Regions from separate parts of the Homo sapiens genome. Here region 1 is linked to region 2. Evidence: promoter capture Hi-C in human tissues and cell types (Jung and others, 2019). All regions are on one chromosome and are shown on one strand. The core of a region is centred on a gene start or on the middle of the fragment in contact, and the rest is flanking DNA. Distances in the headings are between cores, read along the strand shown. Region 1 has its middle 41 kb from the start of CD2. Region 2 holds the start of CD2 (CD2 molecule).

Evidence for each region. The method cuts DNA at HindIII sites, captures the fragments that hold promoters and counts their contacts. A contact is called where the count stands out against the background at its distance.
Region 1: a contact is called between a fragment that was not itself captured here and the fragment with the promoter of CD2 in region 2, in 3 of the 25 tissues and cell types used here (bladder, lymphoblastoid cells and thymus).

Annotation. Positions count from the first base shown.
Region 1 is chr1:116,792,203-116,799,351 of GRCh38, reverse strand. No RefSeq gene overlaps it. Among named protein-coding and RNA genes, the nearest start is that of CD2, 41 kb to the right of the region's middle. The HindIII fragment of the contact is 8,196 bases long and covers 1-7,149 here.
Region 2 is chr1:116,749,818-116,756,272 of GRCh38, reverse strand. It overlaps CD2 (CD2 molecule), which reads right to left and starts at 1,843. Exons shown (of 5, transcript NM_001767.5): 1 at 1,720-1,843; 2 at 1,322-1,642. The coding sequence starts at 1,780. RefSeq lists promoters at 1,726-2,168, 1,726-4,323, cis regulatory regions at 3,227-3,256, 3,594-4,093 and a silencer at 3,090-3,593. The HindIII fragment of the contact is 12,515 bases long and covers 1-6,455 here.

The DNA.
Region 1 (7,149 bases), core at 2,763-5,262, 41 kb before region 2:
CCTCCAATCCCCAGGAATCTCCCCTCCCCATCTTCCCCAGTCAGCACTTTCCTATGCTCTAATATTTTTGCAAAACAGGAAAAGGTCTCATATCATATATATTTTGACTGAAATTGCTCTAGGTAAAATAACTAAATGATTCAATAAATTGTAGGTGCTTTCTTTGAGACACTGAAAAAGAGTGACAGCCTAGATGAAAGGAGATTCTAGGGCCACAGGGCTTTCTCTGAGAATGTGGAAATCGCACTGGATGCAGGAGATTCAACAGAAACTGCTTCATAAGCCCACCCAAGGCTCCCAATGCAGAGACACTGTCCCTGGTTTTCCTGCTCAGGCAACAGCAGCAGCAGGGCTGTCTGGCACATGATGGTAATGATGTGGGAAAACCTCTGCAGCTTTTGGGAGTGTTTGCCTCTAGGACTCTCAGTGGGGCTTGGAGTTTAACAACTGCTTGTGGGTGTTCAGAGTTAAATACCATTGCACTTGTCACTCATGCCCTTGTTTACCCCCAAGGCTGATAAGACTTGGGAAATCAATGTGTGTGTACACCTTAAATGAATGGTGAGTTTTCAAGGCCAGCTAGCCTAATTTTCATCCTTCTGTTTTTATTTTTTTTTATTTATTTATTTTTTTTTTTTGAGACGGAGTCTTGCTCTGTCACCCAGGCTGGAGTGCAGTGGCTTGGTCTCAGCTCACTGCAACCTCTGCCTCCTTGGTTCAAGCAATTCTCCTGCCTCAGCCTCCCAAGTAGCTGGGACTACAGGTGCATGCCACTGCACCTGGTTAATTTTTGTATTTTTAATAGAGACGGGGTTTCGCCATGCTGGACAGGCTGGTCTTGAACTCCTGATCTCAGTTGATCCACCCCCCTAGGCCTCTGAATGTGCTGGAATTACAGGCATGAGCCACCATGCCCAGCCTCATAATTTTCACCCTTCTAAAGCCAGTGCCTAACACAGTGCCTGGCACCATAGATATTTGCAGTAAAAAATGACTGAAGGAATGTATGGATGAATGAATGAGTAAATAAATAGCACATCTTAGATTTTTCTGGTCCCCTGAAAGAAGAAGTAAACAAACAAAAAATAAAGTTGAGGGGGAAGGAGGCAAGATAGCTAATGAAGAGGGCTGAAAAATTTCCTGAACACTCTAAGTGATTTTATGTGCTCATTCATGCCAACAAAAATTCAGAATTGCCTCCTACAGCCCTCTTTTCCCACATTTCAAGGTCTGGTGGTATTCGTGTGGTCCTAGGGCTTTCTCTGCACCACCTCTGTGTGTTCTGTGAGGAGGCTTTATTCCCTGGAAGCCAGCTGGGAGTGGAAGCAGATCTTAGTGAAAGATGAACACTAACTCTCTCTAATCCCATTGCAGCCCTTCCGCCATTATACATTTACTGACCAATGTCTATGGGACAGAAAGCAAATGAGTTTCTCAAAGAGCCAATAGTCTGACTCATATATGTAGCAGATCCAAGGTAGTCTTCATGATTCATGAAGATCAGGATGGATCCTAGTAAGTACAGTGAAGTGGGGGAGGCGGAGGACACATGGAATGGAAATGCAGGGGACTCGCATCTGGAATGGATTTTATAACCGTACTGTATCTAGAGAATGTACACACCCAACATAACAATACCAGTTAAGTCTCCACCTGGCCCCCTACACTGGAGTCCATTCACCAGCCTTCTCTGACTTTCTGTGCCTCAGGAAGTTGACCCCTATGGGCTGAAACACCTGCACTCCCTGACCACCTGACTTCCAGTTGGGTTGGCCAATGGGAGGCGCCAACAAGGAGGAAAGAGAAGTTGGAGTTTTCCCACACCCTTTCCTGCTCTTGTGCTCTATCTTGACTGCAGCTGTTTTTCCATGGCTGCTGCTCTCTCCAGGGGACCCCTTCTCTACAGCTGCAGCTCTCATTGGACCCCTTGTCCCTTCTGGTCTAGGAGAGCAACAGCTTCCTGCAGTTCCTAGCCTCTAGGTGCCTCAACATCCCTATTGGCTTCCTTGACCTTGCCTACACTTCCTAAGTGGTCCCTCTATTGAAGTCTCTAGTTGAGCCATCTGAGTGACATCCTGCTTCCTGCCAGTTAACCGACTGGTAGAGAGGTGAACATACAGAAGTCATGTGAAGAGTCATTTTCCACTAAAAACAAGTTCTTACATCGTACTCGTTTTTTGTTATTCAACAAGATGTTCCTGACTTTTCAAAACCTTTCTGCCCAACTTGTTTCCATGAGCTTGTTTCATGGCAGCACCAGTGCTGACATCACATAGCACATGCCTGCCTCACGGTGGATGTTCTGAGAGCTCCTGCCAGCTCAGGGGGCTCAGATCCCTGGGCTGAAGGTACAATAATTGCATTGTGCAGGGGTCCAAGCCAGGTGCTCCCACATCTCAGGGCAGCACACAGAAGAGATGGCTTATTATTAATTCCCAGCCCTTCTCAGAGCTCCAGGTTGCACTCCAGGACCAGCCACAAGCATAGTACGATTTGGGGTGCAAAGAGACGGGTTCTCTGACTGTCCTTGGCATTTTCTTTACATACTTGCTGAAATTCCTAGAAGCCACTAGATTTTTTTTTCATAAGGTTCACATGGCCTAGCAAGGGAAAGCATCAGTGTTGATGGGGCTCAGGACATGCTAGTCCAAAATATTCTAAGCTGAAGGAATTTGAGAAAACAGCATGTGCAGGAAAGTCTCTCTAACCTTCCCCAATCTTCTCCATAAAACGTAGGAAGGATTTTCTCACCTTCCCCTGAAGCAGGTCATAAAACCTTCACATGAGAGGTGAACGGTTCCCTCCCTACACCCAGGGGAAAGGAGCATCCTTGTCCCTGGAGACACAGGGACATGGAGGGGAATCTGAACAACAAGGCTTGCTAAGTTTTCCCCAGTTTTGTCACCATTAATAGTTCCCTTTTGTCCTCCTCTCATATTTCTCCACGATTGTCCGTGCTTCATCAAACCTAGCATGAAAATATTCAGGCTTACCTGTTTCCTCATTTCCTGATGAGGGCTCCTGTGTCATGTAAAATTTATGTTAAATACATTGTTTTTGACCTTTCTTTTTTTTTAATCTGTTTTTTGTTACAGGGGCCTCAGCCATGAATCTAAGTTGGGTCAAGAAAAAGATATTTTTCCTCCCTTACAGTATGAGTGTGTGTGACTGCCTTTTCAGTGAGGGTGTAAATGGTGGTATCTGATCCTGCCCTGTAAGGAAGTGGGAGCACATATGGCTCTGAGACCCTGCCAGGTGGAAAGCACATAGAGGAAAGAAAGCTCCCTTTGAGGAATGGTCCCTGTGAAGACTTCCCCTTAAGAGAAGTTACCCCTGAGGAGAATTACTCCTGAGGAGTGCTCCCTCTGAGGAGAGACTCTGTCAAAAAAGAAAAAAAAAGAAAAAAAAAAAAGAAGAAGAACTTGACGTGTGAAGCATGCAGGAGCTGTGCTGAGTACAACATCCATGTGTCTTGTTTCGGTGGCTATCTTGGGTCTCAGTCCACCTGGAACAATGGACGGGTTGTTGACTAGCTGCCTTGCGGTAATCTCAAGGAGTGCTCCTCCTAAGGAGTGTTCCCCCCTGAGGAATGCTCCCCCTGAGGAGTGCTCCCCTGAGGAGTGTTTCCCTTGAGGAGAGTTACCCCTAAGAGTGTTCCCTCTGAGGAGAGTTCCCCTGAGATGTGCTCCCGCTGAGGAGTGCTCCCCTGAGAAGTGCCCCTGAGAAGTGCTTCCCTGAAGGGTATTCCCTCTGAGGAGAGGTCCCCCTGAGAAGTGTTTCCCCTGAGGAGTGCTCCCCCAAGGAGTGCTCCCACTGATCAAGACTCCGTTAGCCTTTCCAGCACAGATTCTCCTCTGAGCTCCAGGTTGAGGAAAGAGTCCCTTCTCTGGAAGGGGGGACTTTCTGGCTTTAAAAAGGACAGATTTCTCTTCTAACATCTAGGCAGCTCTTGGAGGCTACTAGTGGAGGGCTCCATGGGATTGACAGCTACTTAGGAGGGCACCAGGCCAGCTGCCCTGCATGCCACAGCCTCATTTCCTCTGCTATGGGGCTCTAAGGCCCAGTATATTCTGAGCAGGGCTGGCCACAGGCAGAGCTGTGTACGGGGTGGGTTGCCCCAACTCCCTTCCCCACATTAATCTCCTGCCCCTTTCTACCATTTCTATGCCTTCAGCACCCTTGCCAAAATGCTCTTCCTTCCATACAAAAAGGGCTGCACTCAGCTTTATTCATAATAACCAATTCTTAAAAGCAACCAAGATATCCTTCAGTAGGTGAATGTGTAACCGAGCACGGGTCTGGCTGCTTTGCCACTTGCAAGGTCCAATGACAAGAGTGAGATATGGTAGAAAGAAAGTGACTTTATTAACCAAAACTAGTAAAGCAGAAGTGAAAGTGACCAGATCCCCATCCAAAGTAATCACTTTAAATTTCTGGGGAGAAAACAAGAGTTTAAAAAAGGGAACTTGGCCAGGCATAGAGGCTCATGCCTGTAGTCCCAGCACTTTGGGAGGCCGAGGAGGGCAGATCACAAGGTCAAGAAATCAAGACCATCCTGGCCAACATGATGAAACCCCTCTCTACTAAAAATAAAAAAATTAGCTGGGTGTGGTGGCGCTTGCTTGTAACCCCAGCTACTCGGGAGGCTGAGGCAGGAGAATCACTTGAACCCAGGAGGTGGAGGCTGCAGTGAACCAACATCACGCCACTGCACTCCAGCCTGGCGACAGAACAAATTCTGTAAAAAAAAAAAAAAAAAAAATAAGAGGAACTTGACATGTGAAGCATGCAGGAGTTGTGCTGAGTACAAGATCCATGTGTCTTGTTTGGTTGCTATCTTGGGTCTCAGTCCACCTGGAACAATGGCCGGGTTGTTGACTAGCTGCCTTGAGGTAATCTCTGGAATTTTGCAGCTGGGTCTCCAGGCTTGGTCTTTCTGTCTCAAGATTAGCCCTTGGAAGGCAGCTTTTGATAATTTTTAGATCATACTATATTAAATCCCTGTGTATTCCATAAAAAAAAGATTAGCCCCTGGAACTTCTAAGTAAGAACATATTTAGATACTAGCATACAGTTAGATAAATGCAAAAGGAGTATATGGTGGGAAAGGGTGGGACATAGAGTCTACCTTAAGCTTACAGGAAAAGGCTTCTGCAGTTTGCTTCAAGGTTGTATTTAAAGACTAGGGAGAAAAGAGAAAGGGGACATTTAAAAAAAATGCATTTTGAAGTTAAGCTATTTGGTTACAAATGGATAAATAAACTATAGTAACATCCAGACAATGGAATATTATTCAATGTTAAAAACAAATGAGCCACCGCACCATGAAAAGACATGGAGAAATATTAAATCCGTATTACTAAGCAAAAGAAGCTAATATGAAAAAGTTACATACCATATGACATTCTGGAAAAGGCTAAACTATGGAGAAGTCGAAAAGATCAGTGGTTACCTGAGGTTAGGGGGAAGGAGGGATGAACAGGCAGAGCACAGAGGATTTTCAGGGCAGTGAAACTACTCTGTATGGTCTAATAGTGGATACATCTCATTATGTATTTGTCCAAACCCACAGAATGCACATAAAGAGTGAACCCTAATGTAAACTTTGGATGACAATGATGTGTCAGTGTGGGTTCATCATTGTAACGAATGTACCACTCTGGTGGGGGATGTGGATAATTCAGGAGGCTATGACTTTATGAAGGAAGTGGGTACATAGGAAATCTCTGTATCTTCCTCTCAATTTTGCTGTGAACCTAAAACTGCTCTAAAAAATAAAGTTGTTGTTGTTGTTGTTTTTAAGCTGCACTCTTCTGTGATGATTTGCATTTTAACAGTATTCAAACTCTTAAACCAGAGGTGAGCAGCCTTCTTTGCATACCATTTATTTTCCATGAAATGAAAATGCAAGGAAAACAACATAGATTCTCAAGACTTGGAATACTTGCTTTACTGAATAAAAGAAATGTCAATGAGGAAACTGTCATGGCTTTTTAGTCACTAACAAGTTAGTATCTGGACATTCATCCTGAAAATCATTCACCAGTCTGGTGGTTCTTCCATGTAGATCTCAGTCCTCAAGTTGCTCATCACTGCTTCATGCTGAAAAACATAATGTTTTTGTTTGTTTGTTTGTTTGTTCGTGACAGGGTCTGGCTCTGTTACTCAGGCCGGAGTGTGGTGGTATAATCATGGCTCACTGCAACCTCTGCCTCCTTGGCTCAAGCAATCCTCCCACCTCAGCCTCCTGAGTAGCTGGGACCACAGGTACATGCCACTACGCCCGTCTAATATTTTTGCATTTTTAGTAGAGATGGGGTTTCACCATGTTGCCCAGGCTGGTCTTGAACTCCTGGACTCAAGTGATCTGCCCTCCTCAGTCTCCCAAAGTGCTGGGATTACAGGCATGAGCCACGGCATCCAACGCAACATGAAGCTTTAATAGTGGCATTTCGGCTGGGCGCGGTGGCTCACGCCTCAGCACTTTGGGAGGCCGAGGCAGGCGGATCATGAGGTCAGGATATCGAGACCATCCTTGCTAACACGGTGAAACCCCATCTCTACTAAAAATACAAAAAAAAAAAAAAAAATTAGCCTGGTGTTGTGGCGGGCACCTGTAGTCCCAGCTACTCGGGAGGCTGAGGCAGGAGAATGGCGTGAACCTGGGAAGCGGAGCTTGCAGTGAGTCAAGATCGCGCCACTGCACTCCAGCCTGGGTGACAGAGCAAGACTCTGTCTCAAAAAAAAAAAAAAAATAGTGGAATTTCAGGCCAGGCACAGTAGCTCATGCCTGTAATCCCAGCACTTTGGGAGGCTGAGGTGGGCAGTTCAGGAGGTCACGAGATCGAGACCTTCCTGGCTAACACGGTGAAACCCCATCTCTACTAAAAATACAAAAATTAGCCAGATGTGGTGGTGTGCGCCTATAATGCCAGCTACTCAGGAGGCTGAGGCAGGAAAATCACTTGAACCCAGGAGGCAGAGGTTACAGTGAGCCGAGATCGCGCCACTGCACTCCAGACTGGGTGGCAGAGCGAGACTCCATCTAAAAATAATAATAATAATAATAAATAAATAAATAGTGGAATTTCAGTTATCAGCCAGTGGTATGGAGCCACTTAGGGGGCAGCAGGATTTACTAATCTCTCA
Region 2 (6,455 bases), core at 594-3,093:
TTTGTGCTGTTTGGAGTCCTGAGATCTGTGGTTTCCAGAGCCCATAATCAGAGGCCCTTTTCAGCGCCATGCTCAACCCCACTACATTTCTACAAGGTGCTCTCCACTCAAGGTTGCAGGACTAGGGTGTGGAAAGTTGTCACTTCAGGGGAGCTGACAGTGTCTGGGATTGCTGGAGTGGGCAATCTGACACTATCTGGGATTGCTGGTAGGCCCAGGTGCTGAAGATGGGGCTGGAGACAGAGAGGAAGAAGGTGGGGTCCCTGCTTCTGGTGATATTTTCTGTGTGAAGCACAGAAATGCTTATTTGCTCACTGAATGGCTGGCCTGTGCTCATGCTGGGGTTCCTGTCTGCCTCCCCAAGTCAAGCGCAGCTTCTTCTTTTCCCTTCTTGTCACTACTTCCCCAGCATCCCCCCGGGCTTTCAACTTCAATGGCATTTCGATTCCACTTTCTCTACCTTCTCTCCCTTGCCTAAGCCACCTTTCTCTATGCCTGACCCTTATTATCCTCATTCTTCCTATTTTAGAGGCACCCTTTGGTCTAGGCCAGTGGCGATTGACTTTGGCAGCTCATTAGAATCCCCCAGGGAGCTTTAGAACCTAATGATACCCAGGCCGCATGCAAAAAAAATCTGATTTAATTGGTCCTCACTCCACTTGGATTACAGCAGCAGCTTTCTAACTAGTCTCCCTAACCCCATCCTCAATATCCACTCCTGTCCTCCCAGTACAGGCAGAGATATACAAAGCCACACCTTGTGCATCTTCTACACATATCAGCAAAAATCACCTGCCACCTTGTATCACTCTGACAAGCAGATCCAAAATAAGGGCTGTTCATCCTTAAATATGTTGTTTCCAGCCCTTTTCTGCCATATAACTCCTCCTTCAGGGCAGCCTGGCTTGAAATGGGCTCTGTCGATGAAAGGCCCGCTGCTCTCCAGTCAGCCTCTTCTTCTCGCCCCACTCTTAGCTCGCCGATTCATCAGCAACCTGGAACAGTTGCCTTTTCCCTCGGCCTACCTGTGTCCCCCTCCCGATTAATGCCACCTTAATCCAGGTTCTTCACCCAACCCCACATTCCTGTAACCACCTGAAGACAGAGTTGTAGGCAGGTAGACTTGAGGGTCTATCAGATGTGTGGATCCCATTCCCGCATTGGACCACAGTCTCCACTGGGGCAGGAGACATGCATCTGGTTTCCTGTATAGCCCCCCTGGAGGCAGAGGTCAGCGCTGGGGAATATTAGAAATGCTATTTTCCAACTTGCCAAATAGCACCCACACTGAAATAAAGCAATTAAGGGAATGAACACTTACCTTGAATCTTCAAATCAAATATTTTTTCCAACACATTTTTTCCTTTTGTATCATATATTGATACCTTGTAGATATCCTGATCATCGGTCTTCAGATGCTTAATTTTCAGAGTTCCATTTTTAAATAGCTTATATGTATCTTTTTCCTTGAAAGTCTCTTTCTCTTTTCTGAATTGTGCAATCTTTTTCTTGTCTGAAGTTTTTTCCCATTTTATATCGTCAATATCATCACTCATTTGAAAACTAGGAATGTCCAAGTTGATGTCCTGACCCAAGGCACCCCAGGTTTCCAAGGCATTCGTAATCTCTTTGGAGACTGCACCTATAAAAAGCAAAAGAGTTACTGAGAGTCACTTTCAGGGAAAGCTGGGTTGGGACTTCTTTGACTCTTATGCTTACCTTTGGAAGAAACATTGAAAATCAGAAGGAAGCTGGCTACAAATTTACATGGAAAGCTCATCTTAGGGGTTGGTTTCCTCTTTTGATTCTGAGCTCTTCATGCAAAAGGAACTGAAGTGAGACTGGTGGAGTCCACACCCCGAGAGCTTAACCACGTGCCTCTCTTTACATCTTTTACAGTAACATAAAACATAATACACATACACAGAGAGCAAGAGCGCGCACAAGCCAGCCCTTCTGATGTGCTCCTTTGCCAAAGCAGATGTGTTTATGAGTGTGTGTTTTCTTGCTGCATTTTAATTCTCACACAAAAAAATTGGGAAGGATAGGTTTTCTCATCTCAGTGAAAGAGAAAAGGAACAGAGAGGCTAAGTAGATCACTAAGGATCACTCTTTTGTAAACAAGAAGCCAAATTCAACCACACAGCCTTTTATCCACTTAGGTATACTGTCCCTAACAAGACCACATAGAAATATAGGTAAATGTTCACAAGCCAATAGCAGAATGCAAACATTTATCCCATATGATTATATTGAAAAATGTAGACCCATAAAATGATGAGGAAATTGATTTTTTTGTTTCTCCAAAGATATTTTTCATGTTCTAAAATCGTTTTTGTGGTGAAAAGAAAGAAATTGAATATCAGCTGTAAATGCTTGCAATCCCCAAATCCTATGTTCGGCATACATTTTACAACTCTAGTGAAATTCACAGTTAGATAAATAAAAACTTATTCCAAAACAAAGAAGCATAGAGACTATGAAATATAATTAAACTACCAAAACAAAGGAGTCAAAAGCATTTAAAGTGATTAACATTATAGGTGGTTAAGAAAAAGGAGAGATTAGGAGAAAAAATAAATGAGAGGGAACAGGGAGAGAAAAAAAGAACAGAAATTTGTGACACAAGGAAACAGACAGTGATGCAGAGACGGGTGTGCCCTGAAAAGATGCCTAAAAAGAGAAATAACCATGACAGACTTCCAAAGCACATTTTCAGGGTTATAATTCTTTAGGTCACAGTGAGTAAAAATTGCAAAAGTGGTGCTCGTTTTCTTTTTCAACTTTAAGTACAAATATGGATATTATCTGTCAGAAAGTTGCCAAGGAAATGAAATTAAGTCAAAGCAGTTGTTTGCTGTTACTGGGTAAAAGAAAGCCAAATATTTACCTCATGGTTGTATGAGCGTCATCCACAATAATGAACTACAGTTGGATTAAAGTTTTAAATGCAAAAATACTATAATAATGCTAAAAGGAGGCCGGGGGTGGTGGATCACAGCTATAATCCCAGCACTCTGGGAGGTCGAGGCGGACCTCCTCACCTGAGGTCAGGAGTTCAAGACCAGCCTGGCCAACATGGTGAAACCCATCTCTACTAAAAATACAAAAATTAGCCAGGTGTGGTGATGTGCGCCTGTAATCCCAGCTACTCAGGAGGCTGAGGCAGGCAAATTGCTTGAATCTGGGAAGCGGAGGTTGCAGTGAGCCAGGATTGTGCCACTGCACTCCAGCCTGGGGAGCAGAGTGAGACTCTGTCTCAAAATAAATAACTAAATAAATAAAATAATAACAATAATGCTAAAAGGACAATATAGAAAGATATTCCTATAGTTTGAGTATGGAAGGCCTGGCTACATATAACATATAATCCAAAGTAAGAAAGAAAAGATGAACACAACTGATGATATAAAGAAGTAAGATTTACATGCAGATGAAGAAATAAGGAACAAAATGAAAAGGCGTGACAAAATATTTGCAATATATATAAAATTATTAATATTCAAAATATTCTTACCAATAATTCTTACCAATCAATACAAAGTAGTTTTTAAAATGGGCAAATGATATAAATGATCAGCTTGCAGAAGAAATATTTCGCAGAAGAAATATCAAACCTACAAGAGGAGTCTAATGTGACCAAAAATATATGTATATATCTTAGCTATAAAATACCATTTTTCACCATCAGATTGGTAAAATTAGAAAAGATGATAATTTACATTATTAACATGAGTGTGTGGAGAAATGAACCCTCATACAACATCAGAGGGAATGTAAATCAATACCTTCTGGGGAAAGGAATTTATCATTTCCACCAAACTTTAAAATTTATGTCTTTTTCTCACCTAGTGATTTTAATTTGAGAAATCTATCCCACAGAAATGATTGCACAGATGTTTTAAAATTCTGTTCAAGGACGTTTGTTGTAGCATTTTTGTAATAAAAAATTGCAAACAACTAAAATTATGGTATATCCATATTATGAAATATTGTATAACCATCAAAATAGTATAACATAGGCCTAAAAGTAAGACATGGAAAGATGCTTTTGGTAAATCACATGAAAAGAGCACATTGCAAAACAATATCTATAGGATTAGTCCTTTTTATATATGATACTATGTTTATACTATGCTATGGGTATACCAGTATACCATAGCATACTATGTTGTTATTAAGGTATGTGTTGGAAAAAAGCCTGAAAGGGTTGATGCTGAATTTTTTTACAGTGCTTGTCTTTCAGGTATTAGATTGTGAGAGAACTGAAATGAAATTTTCACTTCTTACCTTTGTAAACCAAAAAGAATTTGAGACAGATCTCAATCAATTTAGAAGTTTATTTCATCAACATTAGGGACAAAAAGGAACACAGAACCACAGGAAAAATCTGTGGTTTGTGCCTTTTTCTCAAGATTATTTCAAAACCTTCAGTTAAGGGGAAAAGCTGGCCAGAGGGGAAGGAGGGAGGGTACAGTCACATTACTGAATCCATATGTTGCAAGAGAAAAAAAGTAGGTAGGGGAATGGTCAATTTGTATTCTTCTCATGCTCAGTAAATTGGCACTTTCTTAAGATAAGGTGAACATAGAGTAGCTACCCGTGGAGACAGCAGCTTTTTATCTGTAACTCTCTGCTTAGGAACTCAAGGAAAGGCAGTTTCTTGTGTGACTCAACTTTCAGCTTAATTTTTCCTTTTGGCATAATGAATTGGGGTCCCAGGATTTTATGTTTCTTTCACATTTTATTTATTTCTGTGAAGTTTAAAATTTTGGAAATAAGCACCTTTTTTGTTAATAAAAAATGTCTTTTTAAGAAAGGATGCTTAGGGCACACGTATTTTTTCAAAAGTATCGCCAACCCAGAGGAGCAGCATGGAGCTTCCTGTTTGTGAGTGGCTGACCCACCAGCTGCCATCCAACTCCAGTGTGTCAAGGCCTGGTGGAGAGAAGGTGGCGCCAGCCATCCTCTGACCCATCTCAGCTTTGGAGGGCGCTTGTCCTCTCTTCCTCACACTTTCCTCATGGAGCATGTGAAGAGCAGCTTTCTGTTCCTCTATTTGAAACATTAATTTTGCTCCTCTAAAACTAATTCAATTCTGAGTGATGAGCATGGCTTCAAGGGCAGAAACAATGAAAAAGAAAGAGGTCAGTAGATTTGACTCTGTAAAATGTGAAAACTTTCTATGTAAAAAGCCATAAAAAAATTAAAGACAACGTACTAAAAGGAGCAAATTACTTGCAAGATACATGACAAAGGCATAACAATTTTTTTTTAATTTTAGAGACAGGGTCTTGCTCTGTTGCTCAAGATGGAGTGCAGTGGTATGACCACAGCACCACAGCATACTGCAGCCTTGACCTCCTGAGCTCAAGTGATCCTCCTGCTTCAGCCTCCTGAGTAGCTGGGACTACAGACATGTGGCACCATGCCTGGCTAATTTTTTTATTTTTTGTAGAGACGGGGGGTCTCACTATGTTGCCCAGGCTCATCTTGAACTCCTGGGCTCAAGTGATCCTCCCACCTTGGCCTCCCAAAGTGTTGGGATGACAGGTGTGGGCCACCGTGCCTGGCCAACATTAAATTTTTAGTATTAAATTTTTCTTGTAAACATAGAAAAGATAGACACCTTAAAACTAAAATGGGTCAAAGTCATAAAAGGAGCAATCCACAAAAGAAAAATTTTATTTCTATTTATTAATAAAGAAATGTCAGTTTTAACATAGATGCATTTTTCATCTTCATTTGAAAAATGAAAACATAGTGTTGATGATGGTGTAAATGGGCATTCTTGTATATGGCCAGGAGAATTGCAAGTAGGTATAGTTTCTGGTGGGCAATTTGTCAGTGTGAATTAGAGTATCAAACATTTGTGGATTTCTAACAAATCCACAAGGATGATTTTATCATAAGGAAATAATGAAGGCTATGTACTAGACTTGGCTATAAATTTATATGCTGCAGTATTTTAAAGACAAAATTGGAAACAATTTAAATGTCTAAGAGAAGGAAATTGGTTAAGTAAATCATGATATAGACAAGCTGTGGAATATGACAAAAACAGGTCCCAATTGTAGGAGAGGTGAAAAGTAATCTTTTTCCTCTTCTTGTCTTAGGTTCTCTGGCTGGAGCCCTGTAAACCAGACTGGGAAAAGACAGGTTAAGAAGGGAAAGGCACATTGAAGTTGATTAAGATGTGTATCCCTCATAAACATGGGAGCACCCAGTGGTGAGTAACCCAAAGGGATGTTAGAACTTGGACTTATAGAGTATATTAGACTAAACAAAGAAAAAGCGATTTGGGGCTTCTAGGTTGGGGAGGCAAGTTACCCAATGACCAGGAAAAGTGTGCCAAACAACAAGATGTGTTTAGTAAGGTTTGTTATGCAGATTGAAGCCAATGCCTTCTCCATTGATAAGAGTTGTTAAGAGTCCTCCTCTTCCTGATACAGGAG